4 separate regions of the Homo sapiens genome follow, and regions 1, 3 and 4 are each linked to region 2. The links are contacts of gene promoters, found by promoter capture Hi-C in blood cells and fetal thymus (Javierre and others, 2016). All regions are on one chromosome and are shown on one strand. Each heading gives the region's core, a stretch centred on a gene start or on the middle of the fragment in contact. The rest is flanking DNA. Distances are from core to core; before and after follow the strand shown.

Region 1 (2,801 bases), core at 50-2,549, 530 kb after region 2:
AATGATCTATGAAAATACCTAATTGTCTTGGCAAATTTGTCTAAAAGGAGTTGGCAGAATTGAGTGCTAAGTCAGCATTATTAAGAGGCATACTATGCTGAAGTTATCAGTAACTACAGACAAACTAGAATACAACCTTTTGCATACTATCCTACCCAGAATACTATATTTAGTGAAGCCATTCAATTTTTTAGAGTATTTAGCTGAACCCAGAAACATTCAATAGTTATACTTACTTTGGTTGGCAAGAAGTTTTTCCAGAGATTGAGACCATTGCATTACTTCAGCAGCAGAAAGTCTGCAGGGGACAAAATGTACATACATTAGTCAATTTTTAAAATGTAAGCACAAATGAAATAAGAATGGCTGTTACACTTTGATAACTTCACAAACTGAAACTGTAGTTCTAATAAATATGTTAAAATTTATTCACAAAATGCAAAACTTCCCTTAGAGTTACTATAGTTATGAAAAAAAAAACCTGCCAATAAAATTTGAAAAAATCCAAATAGATAAAGTCCAATATGTGTGTGTACACATTTGTATTCAATTTACATTGGTACTGATAGTCTAATTTTATTTGGCATGTTACTTAAAAGAAATGAAGTCTACTGTGCGCAGTATTTATCCCTTGCTGGGATATAGAGATAATGCATAGGCTTCTCTTGTAAATGATAATGATAGTTTAGTGTATTAGTGTACTTACACATCCTTGGACTTGGAAGATTTCATTCCAGATTCCAGATGTGGGATCATAGATCTCAGGTATGCTTTCATATCCATTCCACTACAAAAGACATAAAAGTGAATATTCATATTTCTTCAGAATTCATTTTATTTGTAAAAAGACATAGAATAAATTTCTCTAAGGAATAAGGCAATACTAAAAATGGTTGATACAACATTTTGCTATAGAACCCATTTTTATGAGCCTGTGTAGAGAAAAACTCCTACCCAATTTAATGCCATATCAAGATTTATTTTTTAATGCAGCTGAATATTACTTATTACTCACAACAGGCAATTAACTCCTCTGATCTGGCTAAACTAAATGCTCACACTCTCTTCCATTCATTCTCAATCCTTCTGCCATTAAAGATAACTTGTTAAAATTCACAAAGTGAGACTCTGAACAAACTTACAAAGTCTTTGGCCTCCTTTTTTGCATTTTGTCGTCTAGAAGTGAATGAGTGGTTCCTTTCAATTCCTTTGGGTTAGCAGAGAAGAACATTCCTGGCATTTTGTCTAACTTTGGAGTGGAGATGGCTGCTGCGCGCATGGTGCTCTTAGCAAATATGCGCTAGTCAACGTCTCTGCTGCTTTATATAGTAGAATGCAGACAGGCACTTGCTGTTTAAAGGAGTCTGTTTATCAAGTGATGTTACCACAGACACTGGAAGTTCCCCTTTTCTTGGTGTGCTGTGACGTGTATCTTGAAAAAAAAAAAGCATACAGTGGTGTCTTGTGGTTGAAACTTAACCAAACGAGAACAGGTCACTTGATTAGAAAGAAAGAAAATTAAACATACAGAGGTACACACACATATGTCACATGTCTAAAGCATTAACAGCATCAGTCTTTGGTTCTGGAGGATGTTTGTTTATTTTAAAAAAGTTGCATGTTTCAATAAACTGTTTCATTTGGCGTATTAATTTATCATATAGAAACTCACATAGAAATTCATCACATAGAGTTGTATCTTACTCCATGCTTTGGATAGTCCTTGACTATAAAATTCATCTGATCAAAATATTTTAAGAGTTCTCTTCTTTTCTGCAGGAAGCAGGGCAAAGTAAACAAATAATTTTTGTTTAATTATTTTGCACATATCTGATAGGAGGGAAAGTTATAAGAGGCTATCTTCACATTTTCCCACTCCAATTCTCATCCCTTATTTCCATGGCAGGAAATTTCCATGTTAATATTTTCCAAGGTGTGTGCTAGACATCGACTGGCAATACATAGGATGATTTTAAGGGGTGCATGGTTTTTAATATTATTTTCATATTTATTAAGAATATAACTAGTATATCAAACTTTGATTTTTGCATATTTTGCATATTAGGAAAAAATAAAGTTTAATTAAAACCAATCATAAATAAATAAATGTTTAATTGTATACAAATATGACATAATTTGTAAACATACTGATACCAAGGTCACAGTATCAGAGGAAAAACTGCTCAAGGTAAAATAAAAGTCTATTTGGATAGACCAATAATGTGTACTTCTTAGGTAATGATCTTTCACATTTTGGCAGTATCTCTGGAGAGATAACAGTTTTAGCTTTAATTGAGATTAAAGTTTAAAACACAAACAAAACTCAAGGAACTAGATGACTAATCATTTATAAGGATAGAGAAGTTAGTAAAATATAAGCTTTCAAAAGTTTATATAACAAGTGTGGCTTATTTATAGAGTACCCAGTTTAACTTAAGCCTCCTTGGATTTTACCCCTGGAAGGACAATACTTTCCTTTAAAAGGACAAAAAAGCATTTACTTAGTGAAGCTTCTGATGGTATTAGGTAAAGCTGATAAAAGGGAGGGGAGTATTAATTTTTCTGTTCTGGTTCTATCGTCAGGATAAAGAATATTTGAAGAAAACACATTTACAATATTATAAAATTCACTTATACACAGTCATTAATTTCATTATAATGAGCTCATTATATTGTATGTAACAAGCATCATTTTATGTTGGGAAGATAACATAAGGCATTAAGAAAGATAACTGGTGAGATGAGCTGGCCACTTTGGAAGTGACCCTAATGAGACCGATGAAACTCAAAGACAGATGACA
Region 2 (2,788 bases), core at 257-2,756:
ATAAATTTCCAAAATAGTTTTATAAAAAAATTAAAAAGCCCACAACACTATAGATAGATAACATACCTTAATTTTTATTTTATTTTATTTATTTATTTTTTTATGAGACGGAGTTTTGCTCTTGTTGCCCAGGCTGGAGTGCAATCGTGTGATCTTGGCTCACTGCAAACTCTGCCTCATGGATTCAAGCGATTCTCCTGCCTCAGCCTCCCGAGTAGCTGGGATTACGGGCATGCGCCACCACGCCCGGCTAATTTTGTATTTTTAGTAGAGACGGCGTTTCACCAATATTGGAGGGGCTGGTCTTGAACCCCCAACCTCAGGTGACCCGCCCGCCTCGGCTTCCTAAAGTGCTGGGATTACAGGACTGGCCACTGCGGGAGCTGCGGCAGCTGCGGCCTCTGGGTACGGGGTCAGCGGGCAGTCCTGTAATGGCCACATTACAGGACAGGCCATCGCGCCTGGCCACATGCCTTAATTTTCAAAGTCAAATTTGTCTTTAAAAAGAATGAATTCCTACCCTTTGGGGGTATTTATTTTTGCAACTAACTTCCATCCTTTTATTAAGTAATCAAACATAGCCCATTTGAATGTTGGAAAAGAACTGTCAGAAATACAAGTTCTTATTTTGTACTTTGGTAACATGAATTTTACACTTAGTTGAACATGAAGAATCAAAAAAGCTCTGGATTGTTGTAATAATTGTTTAGAATTTTAGATGTACCATTTGACCTTTGACTTTAAGATGAATTTCAGTGTCCTCAGTAAATAAAGGCTTACCCCCAACCTTAAATAGTGACGCACAAAGGCTATTATTACCACCACTGAGTGGCTTAAATAATCCTGTCAACAGCAATCGCCCATTTCCAAAGCCATGGTGAAACATCTCTGTGCTAATTTCTTTTGTTTTGTTTCCTAATTTTTTTTTTTTGGCAGGTGGTGGGAAATAATCTTTGTCTTCTTTGGAGTAAACCTTCAACACCGGATTTTTTCTTTTAATTATGGATGTAAACCCCAATATCCCCATAATTTACATTGGGTCTCGACCAATTGCCTAATTATAAGAGGATATATTTAGGCTCTTATTTCATCCACACAAAAACTTGTGTAACAGGTAGTTGGAAACATCTGAGGCACCACTTTGATTCTGTTTTGGATGGTCATGTTTTTTCTCCTCCGTTTCCCCAGCATGTCTGCCACCATCCTCATGCACTGCTTCCAAGTGCCTGGGAGCCTTTATGAGCGTCCCTAAACCTAAAAGAATCCAGAGGCGGGGCTCGGATGAACCCTCGAGATAAGCAAGTGAGCCGCTTCTCCCCTCTAAAGGATGTTTACACGTGGGTGGCACTCGCTGGAATCCAGCGCTCGGGCAGCCCTGGGAGGACGCGCTCAGCTGCGAGGAGGTGACCGGCGGCGGCGCGGGCAGTCCGGAGGGGCGGGACGGGGCGGGGCAAGGCGGGGGCCGGGCCGGAGGAGGCGGGCTCCCGGGATCCGCGGTGTCCGGCAGTAGAGCTCGCTGCAGATCCGGGCTCTGACCATGATTTGGCGCCGCGCGGCGCTGGCGGGGACGCGGCTGGTTTGGAGCAGGAGCGGCTCGGCAGGCTGGCTTGACAGGGCGGCGGGAGCTGCGGGAGCTGCGGCAGCTGCGGCCTCTGGGTACGGGGTCAGCGGGCAGGAGTGCCGCGGCGTGGTGCGCAGGCCTTGCGGGGGTCTGGAGAAAGCGGTGGGCGGAGGTGCCCCTTTGCCCCGGCGCCGGGTGGGCGAGGCGTACTAGCGCGTGGGCTCTGAGTCATAACACGCAGAGGCGCTCGAGGGATGGGCAGGGAAGGGTGCCCTCCGCGGCTGTGCTGACTTCAGGAGCCTGTGACTCTCGCGTTGAAAATACTTCACTCATGTTCACTTAGGCCATCCCTCTGTGAATTGCTACATAAAATACAAGACGCCGCAATCAATTGGAATTTCTCTGAAAGAGCGAATGATTCTTAGTCCAAGTGTGTCCCAAATACTGCAGTGGACATAGGAAAAACGGAACAGTTTTCTGGTGTTTGGTTACAATTCTAATTTGACCGGGCGTCCTGCATTCTTGTTTGCTAAACTTAGCCACCCTACTGCAGGAAGTGAAGGCGATGATTCCCGCTGAATGGCCAGAGCTTTTAGGATAGAGGCTGACTGATGGTGATGCCGCCTGCGGCTAGACCGAGGATAGTGCTTTCCTTACACTTCCTCGTTTGGAATATCAGCGGCTTCGGGACCTGCAGTGGAAGGGAACTGCGGCTGTGCTGCCCACGCCCGCGCGGCTGGTGCCTGGCGGTCCTGCCGGCTCGCACTTCCGCGCCTGCCACTGCGCACTTGGCCGGAGAGTCTGTCTCGCTATCTACTTGATCTGGGAGCTTCTATCAGTTTTGCAAGATTCTAGGAATCTCAAGTTTAACTTTCCAGACCAAGCTAGAGACCCCTCCTGAAGGGCTAATCACAGGCTGTTAAGTGTTTGACAGCTCTTTGAGGCCCCGCCGTGTTTTTTTCTGCGTATCCCTGGGGTCAATATAGCACTTTGCCTACTTAGCACACAGTAGGCGCTCCATAAATGTGGCATGACTAGGTGCTTCATCTGTGTTGAAATGAAATGTTTATTGTGCACTTACTTCCTCCGTGCATGTTTCTATTCATAGTTCGCGACAGTTTTTACCAAGGTCAACTAGAAATTGAAGGGAAAGGGTGTCTTCCAGAAACTTTTATTTGGGTAATATTTCAGAATGCACCTCCTACCTCCTCTCACTACCCAAGAAAA
Region 3 (3,075 bases), core at 328-2,827, 630 kb after region 2:
TTTGAAAACACATTGGAACATCATCAAGAAGATAGATCAAGTACAGACTTCCAAGAATTTTGCCCTAATGGGCAGCAAAGAAATAGGTGATAACTTGACATTTTTCAAGTAATCTTTTCCCAAAAGGGAGTTAAAAAAGATTGTTTTCATAGTCAGTGGACCAGCATCTCAATAAAGAAAAATATCAACAAAAAATTGATGATGCAGGAATGAGGTCATTGAGAAAGTTAAACTAGGTGATAAGCAGAGTCAAGTGGGATAGCAAGCCTTTAAACAGAAACAGGACACCTTTTACACACTACGAGCAGAAGAGACAGAGATTTGGGGTATATATGAAGATCATATTCATCTTTAGCTGATGCCACTTGACTATCTTTAAAAATCTTGTATTTTGAATTATAAGAGATCACATTCTTTGCTAACATGTCTTTGTGCTATCCAAAATTTGGGAAACACTGGGCTAAACAATTTTTTTTTAAACTTAAAAGGGTCTTCAGACCCTTTAATTTGTGCATGTGTATTGTGAATTTCCAAAAGAGAGTTTATAACATAGAGCATTTCCCAAACTGATTTGATCATATAAACATTTTTTCTTGAACTATCCATTATTCTTGTGGGAAGAAGTTTTCCAAGAAACATACTTTAAGAGATTCTAAATAAACAAAATGACTAGTGTTTATTTTCTTAAATTTAATTTTTTAGAGAGGACTTTCTCTTTATATGCTTTGTCGTAAATCTCATTTTTCTAGCACTCATACAAAATAAAGAGATTGGAGATAATATGGTAAGCCTGTAGACATATGTTATTTATAGTAATTTCTTAATCTTCCCTTAATAAACCTAACACTAATAGCAAAAGGACTACTTTTTATCTGATATCAAAAAATAAATAAAAATTTCTTTATTTACAAATAGAACTAAACATGTATCACAATTGCATATCACTTATGCTTTGAATATAGTAAGATCTGGGAAATTCTCCTGCCTAATATACTATAGCATCTTAGAAAGAGAAGTCATTTTATACGTACTTAGTAAATAAGTAAATAAGTGTATGATTTCCCATTTACCTTGTCCATTTATTATTAAATAAAAGAGACCCAGTTCACATGTGCAATTTACAAATTTGAAGTATCTATCTGCTCTATTGCTATATTAAAATGGTAGCAATTTTTTTTTTTTTTTTTTTTTTTTTTGAGACGGAGTCTCTCTCTGTCACCCAGGCTGGAGTGCAGTGGCGTGATCTTGGCTCACTGCAAGCTCCGCCTCCCAGGTTCACGCCATTTTCTTGCCTCAGCCTCCCGAGTAGCTGGGACTACAGGTGCCCACCACCATGCCTGGCTATTTTTTTGTATTTATTTTTAGTAGAGGCAGGGTTTCATCATGTTAGCCAGAATGGTCTCGATCTCCTGACCTCGTGATCCACCCGCCTTGGCCTCCTAAAGTGCTGGGATTACAGGCATGAGCCATAGCAATTTTTTTATGGTCAGAATATATTCCAGAATGGGTGAGAAGGAGAAAATAGCATTTTCCCTTCTCTAGATCAATCAAGAACCTTACTTCTTTTAAATGAAGAATTTAAGGAAGGCAGAACAAGATGGCCAAATAGAACTCTCCAGAAATTCCCCCCGCCATACCCCTTGTAAAGGGACACCAAATTGCACAACTATCTATGCAAGAAAGCAACTTTATAAGGACAAAAATCAGATGAGTGATTATAGTGCTTGGTTTTAACATTGTATCGAAATAACAGACATTGAAGAGAGTGGGAAAGACAGTCTTGCATTGCCAACACCACCTGTCCTCAACCCCAGCAGTGCCATGGAGAGAGTATATTGAGTGCTTGGGGGAGGGAAAGTGAAGTGATTGTGGGAATTTGCACTGGAACTTCGTTCTACCCTTTCACAGTGGAATACATATTACACATGGCAAAATTCTGCCAGTGCCCATGGAGGGAACATTTAAAACAGCCTCAGTCAGAAGGGAAACTCCTGCCCCAGGAGTAGGGGCCTGAGCTCCAGCTAGTTCCACTACTGGCTGACTAAAGTGGCATGGGGTCTTGAATACATTTGAAAGGCAGTCAGACTACAAGGGCTGCAGTCCTTGGGCAAGTACTGGTGCTGTGCTGAGCTCAGAGCCAGTGACTTGAGGTGCACACTTCCCAGTAAAACAACAGCTAGGGTGACGAGGAGAGTTTTTGTATCACCTCACCCCCAATGCTAGGCAGCACAACATGGAAAAAGAGCTTCCTTCAGTTTGGCAGAAAGTAAGGGAGGAGAACAAGATACTCTGCCTGGTAATACAGAAAATAATCTTGTATCTTACCTGAGCCCATTAAGGTGGTACAAGTCTGCAAGATTTGCAGCATTATCAGGTTTGGGGTGCACCCAGTACAATATGGGTGCAGTGACCAAAGACTTAGATCACAATACTCAATTTCCTTTGAATACCTGGAGAACCTTCTCAAGAAGGATGGGTACAAACAAGCCCAGACATTGATGAACTTCCAGAAGCATCAAGACCATCCAGAAAACATGAGCTCAATACACGAACTAAATTAGGAACCAGTGACCAATCCCAGAGTGACAGAGATATGTGATCTTTCAGACAGAGAATTCAAAGTAGCTATTTTGAGGGAGCTCAGTGAACTCAATATAACACAGGAAAGGAATTCAGAGTTCTATCAGAGAAATTTAACAAAGAGATTGAAATATTTCTTGAAAATCAAGGAAAAATTCTAGAACTGAAAAATTCAATTGAGAAACCAAAAAATGCATCATAGTTTATCAACAGCAGAATTAAGCAGAAGAAAGAATTAGTGAGTTTTAAGACAGGCTGTATGAAGATACACAGAGAAGAAGAAAGGAAAAAGAAAAAAGGAAATGACGTGAAGCATATCGATTAGATCTGGAAAATATCCTCAAAAAACAAATCTAAGGGTTATAGATTTTAAAGGCAAGGTAGAGAAAGAGATTGGGGCAGAAAGTTTATTCGAAGAAACAATAACACAGAAGTTTCCAAACCTAAAGAAAGATATCAATATTCAGAGATACAAGAAGGGCATAGAACACCAAG
Region 4 (2,868 bases), core at 333-2,832, 560 kb after region 2:
TCTAAGCTTCCAACTCCGTATTTATTTATTAAGCTTAAAGTAACACAGAATGTCTTCATTATTATGCAAATAAATATTTCATTTTTGGATTTATTTAACAAATATCATGTGCCAGTTTTGTCCTGGGAATAGTACTTAGTACATAAGAAAAGCTGATGACTGTGTCTATGACAAGGAATCTTTAGTGAGGAAACAGACATGTAGACAACTTCAATATAAATCAGATAACTGGTTTGAAGGAGTAATGTACAGAATGCTATAGGAACTCAGAAAACAGCTTTCCTATGTCACCTAGAGACAGCAGGGGCCTCATGGAGGAAGCAGCATTTAAGCTGAGAAGCAAAGCCTGAGTAGGAATATTCTAGACAGTTTAATATGTGAGAGTGGAAGGATATTCTAGGAAAAGGAAATAACATTTCATATAACAACTGTTCTCAGTGAGGAGAACATGGGAACGAGATTAGACAGGAACATAGGACCAGTTGGCCACTGACCTCAAAGGGATTTGCAGGTATGAGATCTGTGTGGTAGAAACTACAAGTACTGCAAGAAGTCGGAGAAGGGAGGTTTCTTGAGGTACAGAGATGCCAGCTCTGTGCAGGGAGTAGAATTTGACTAGGACTTGTACTTGGAAAGACTGAAGGGAACATTGCTCCAGGTTTGGTGAGCAATGTGGACCACTGTCCAGAGGTTGTATCAGTGTGGTCCCCCTGTTGGAAAGTGAAATGTATAAACCTGTTTTTAGCAGAGGCACATTTTTGAGATGGTAAAATTAAAGCTGGACATGTTACTGGGACATGTTATCAAAAGCTAAAAATTCTGGGGGTCACTTAAGGCAGTAAGACAGAAAAGTGTAGCAGAAAATGCTGTAGCTGGGAGTCAGTGGATTCAAGAACTGGTGGGGTCTATCGTTGGTTCTGTAATGTTGGAAATATCACCCAGTCCTCAAGCTTCTGGAGCTATAATATATAAAATGAGGATTGTTAAACCTCATACTCTGTAAGGCCACTCCACTTCTAAGTTGCCATATGTGTTTAATAAATAGGGACCTGTTGAAATTTTTAGCGGGTTTTATTGTGCTGTTGTTATTTGGCCTTAAGAAGGAAGTATTAAGTTTAGGGAACTGGGATTTAGATTCAAGGGTTTTGAGTTCAAGTTTTGTTTCTGTCTCTTGCTACCTTCATGACATTGATTAAGAAAGTCATTTAGTCTTCTTGAGACCATTTTCTTATCTGTGAAGCTGGGATGATGTTTGCTTTGCTTAAAACATAGGTTGAGGATCAAATGTGATGAATATATAAAATATTGTGTGTTCTATAAGGTGCTACAGGAAATATTTTAAAAGACATAAAGTGGTAGACTATTATGGTAATCTTATGCGAGGAGATATAATTTGGAGATAAGTAGTACCTATGAGAATAGAGAGCTACAAACGTATAAGACATTTTGAATGAAATATAGATAGAAAATAGATAGTGACTTATCTTACAGGTTGATGAAAATGAGAGATGGAGAGAGTGAAGATGGCAACAGTGACTAAGGAGTGTCGACCACATTTATTTAAAATCTCTGTGCTGGTCACTGTAGAAATTCTATTTTAATGTGAATGGATAGTGTAATAAAGTAAGTTTTTGTGGTCTGGTTCAAAAGTAGGCCAAAATGAAAATTTTACTTGCAAATTTCAAGAAGCAAATGGAAAGAGAACCAGGCCTTAGAATATATTTGCGTTTCTGTATTGCCCACTAATATTTTTGTATAACACATTTTAAGTAATAAAAATCTGATAATTTATTTGTCCACCCTGGAAAGGAAAAAAAGATAAGCTATAAAGCAGTCTAATTTTATCAAACCATTTTTGGATACCTTATAAGTAAAGTCAGAAAACTAGAAGTGAAAAGGGAATGCTTCTAGAAACTGTAGTGAGGTCTGCATCAAATCCTAAGACATGTTTTTGCTCCAGGTTTCCTGCAATTGCTACCATAAAGGGAGCATTTCAGACCCAGTGCTCTGTAATGTGGTTTCTTTCCTCTGGAATTCCTCCAATCCTTCATGAATAGCTGGAGGAATGCAGACCTCTGGAGGCTGTATTTTACAGGTTGCTATGGAACTGTCTAAATATTATGAACAGTGCAGTGGTATATGACATACGACAGCCCAATGCCATGAAATTAGGGCAGCTAGAAATCATTTCCATACCCTTGAAATGTAAGCTTCTAGTTTAAAAGAATGGCATGAATGTTTTTCATAAATAAATTATCCTTTATCACACTAAGTTAGATCCTGGGTGGAGATAGGAAGTCTGGGACTTCAAAAGAGCTTTAGTTCAGAGAGAGGCCTGTAGACCCTAAGAAGCAAATACACAAGCAGGCCAGGGGAGGCCTAGTGAGGGGAAGGAGGAATATAAAACTTCGTAGTTTTCAGGATATAGATTGTAATGTTGATGTTACAAAGAGAACTGCTTTAAAAATCTCACTCCAAAGGTGTGCTTGGAGGTAAACAAGCTAACATAACTTCGGGATCAGGCAAGTCACTTAGAGCAAAAACGGGGCTTCCTCTTTCAACACCCTTTTTTTTGTGCTGTGAGACCCCCAAACTCTCAGCTACTCAGGGTTTGATGCTTGACTTTTTCTCAGATTCCAATAATTGTTTATGAAACCTGATTCAAATTTTAAGTCAGAAGTTACCCACCATAAAACATACCTCCCCCTCCTCCCTGGTTCTACTTAAGTTTCATTTAAATAAGAAATATAGCTCTCTGGGTACAATTTTTTGAATAACAGTTCTGTGAATGCTATTTGCTTCTGCAGGTTATGCCAAAGGCAGTTTCCTCTCTGAATGAATGTTTTTAATGTGCAAATTCAAAATACA

What was found. Contacts are between HindIII fragments. The CHiCAGO score rates a contact against its expected background, and 5 or more counts as called.
Region 1: the fragment with the promoter of RGS1 here is called in contact with the fragment with the promoter of GLRX2 in region 2 in 7 of 17 cell types (M0 macrophages, M1 macrophages, M2 macrophages and 4 more); the score reaches 11.3 in M0 macrophages.
Region 3: a contact is called between a fragment that was not itself captured here and the fragment with the promoter of GLRX2 in region 2, in 2 of 17 cell types (neutrophils and M0 macrophages). The highest score is 7.0, in neutrophils.
Region 4: a fragment that was not itself captured here is called in contact with the fragment with the promoter of GLRX2 in region 2 in 1 of 17 cell types (M0 macrophages); the score reaches 6.2 in M0 macrophages.

The regions. Positions count from the first base shown.
Region 1 is chr1:192,574,271-192,577,071 of GRCh38, reverse strand. RGS1 (regulator of G protein signaling 1) reads right to left here and starts at 1,299. Exons shown (of 5, transcript NM_002922.4): 1 at 1,143-1,299; 2 at 707-787; 3 at 237-298. The coding sequence starts at 1,279. The region is part of intron 3 of LOC105371664 (a long non-coding RNA gene); the gene reads left to right. RefSeq lists an enhancer at 1,375-1,454. The HindIII fragment of the contact is 3,705 bases long and covers 1-2,381 here.
Region 2 is chr1:193,104,132-193,106,919 of GRCh38, reverse strand. It overlaps GLRX2 (glutaredoxin 2), which reads left to right and starts at 1,506. Exons shown (of 4, transcript NM_197962.3): 1 at 1,506-1,656. The coding sequence starts at 1,538. RefSeq lists silencers at 1,328-1,567, 1,347-1,641, 1,618-1,717. The HindIII fragment of the contact is 5,966 bases long and covers 1-2,788 here.
Region 3 is chr1:192,469,219-192,472,293 of GRCh38, reverse strand. No RefSeq gene overlaps it. Among named protein-coding and RNA genes, the nearest start is that of RGS1, 110 kb to the left of the region's middle. The HindIII fragment of the contact is 7,907 bases long and covers 1-3,075 here.
Region 4 is chr1:192,539,137-192,542,004 of GRCh38, reverse strand. All of the region lies in intron 4 of LOC105371664 (a long non-coding RNA gene), which reads left to right. Among named protein-coding and RNA genes, the nearest start is that of RGS1, 35 kb to the left of the region's middle. The HindIII fragment of the contact is 1,260 bases long and covers 953-2,212 here.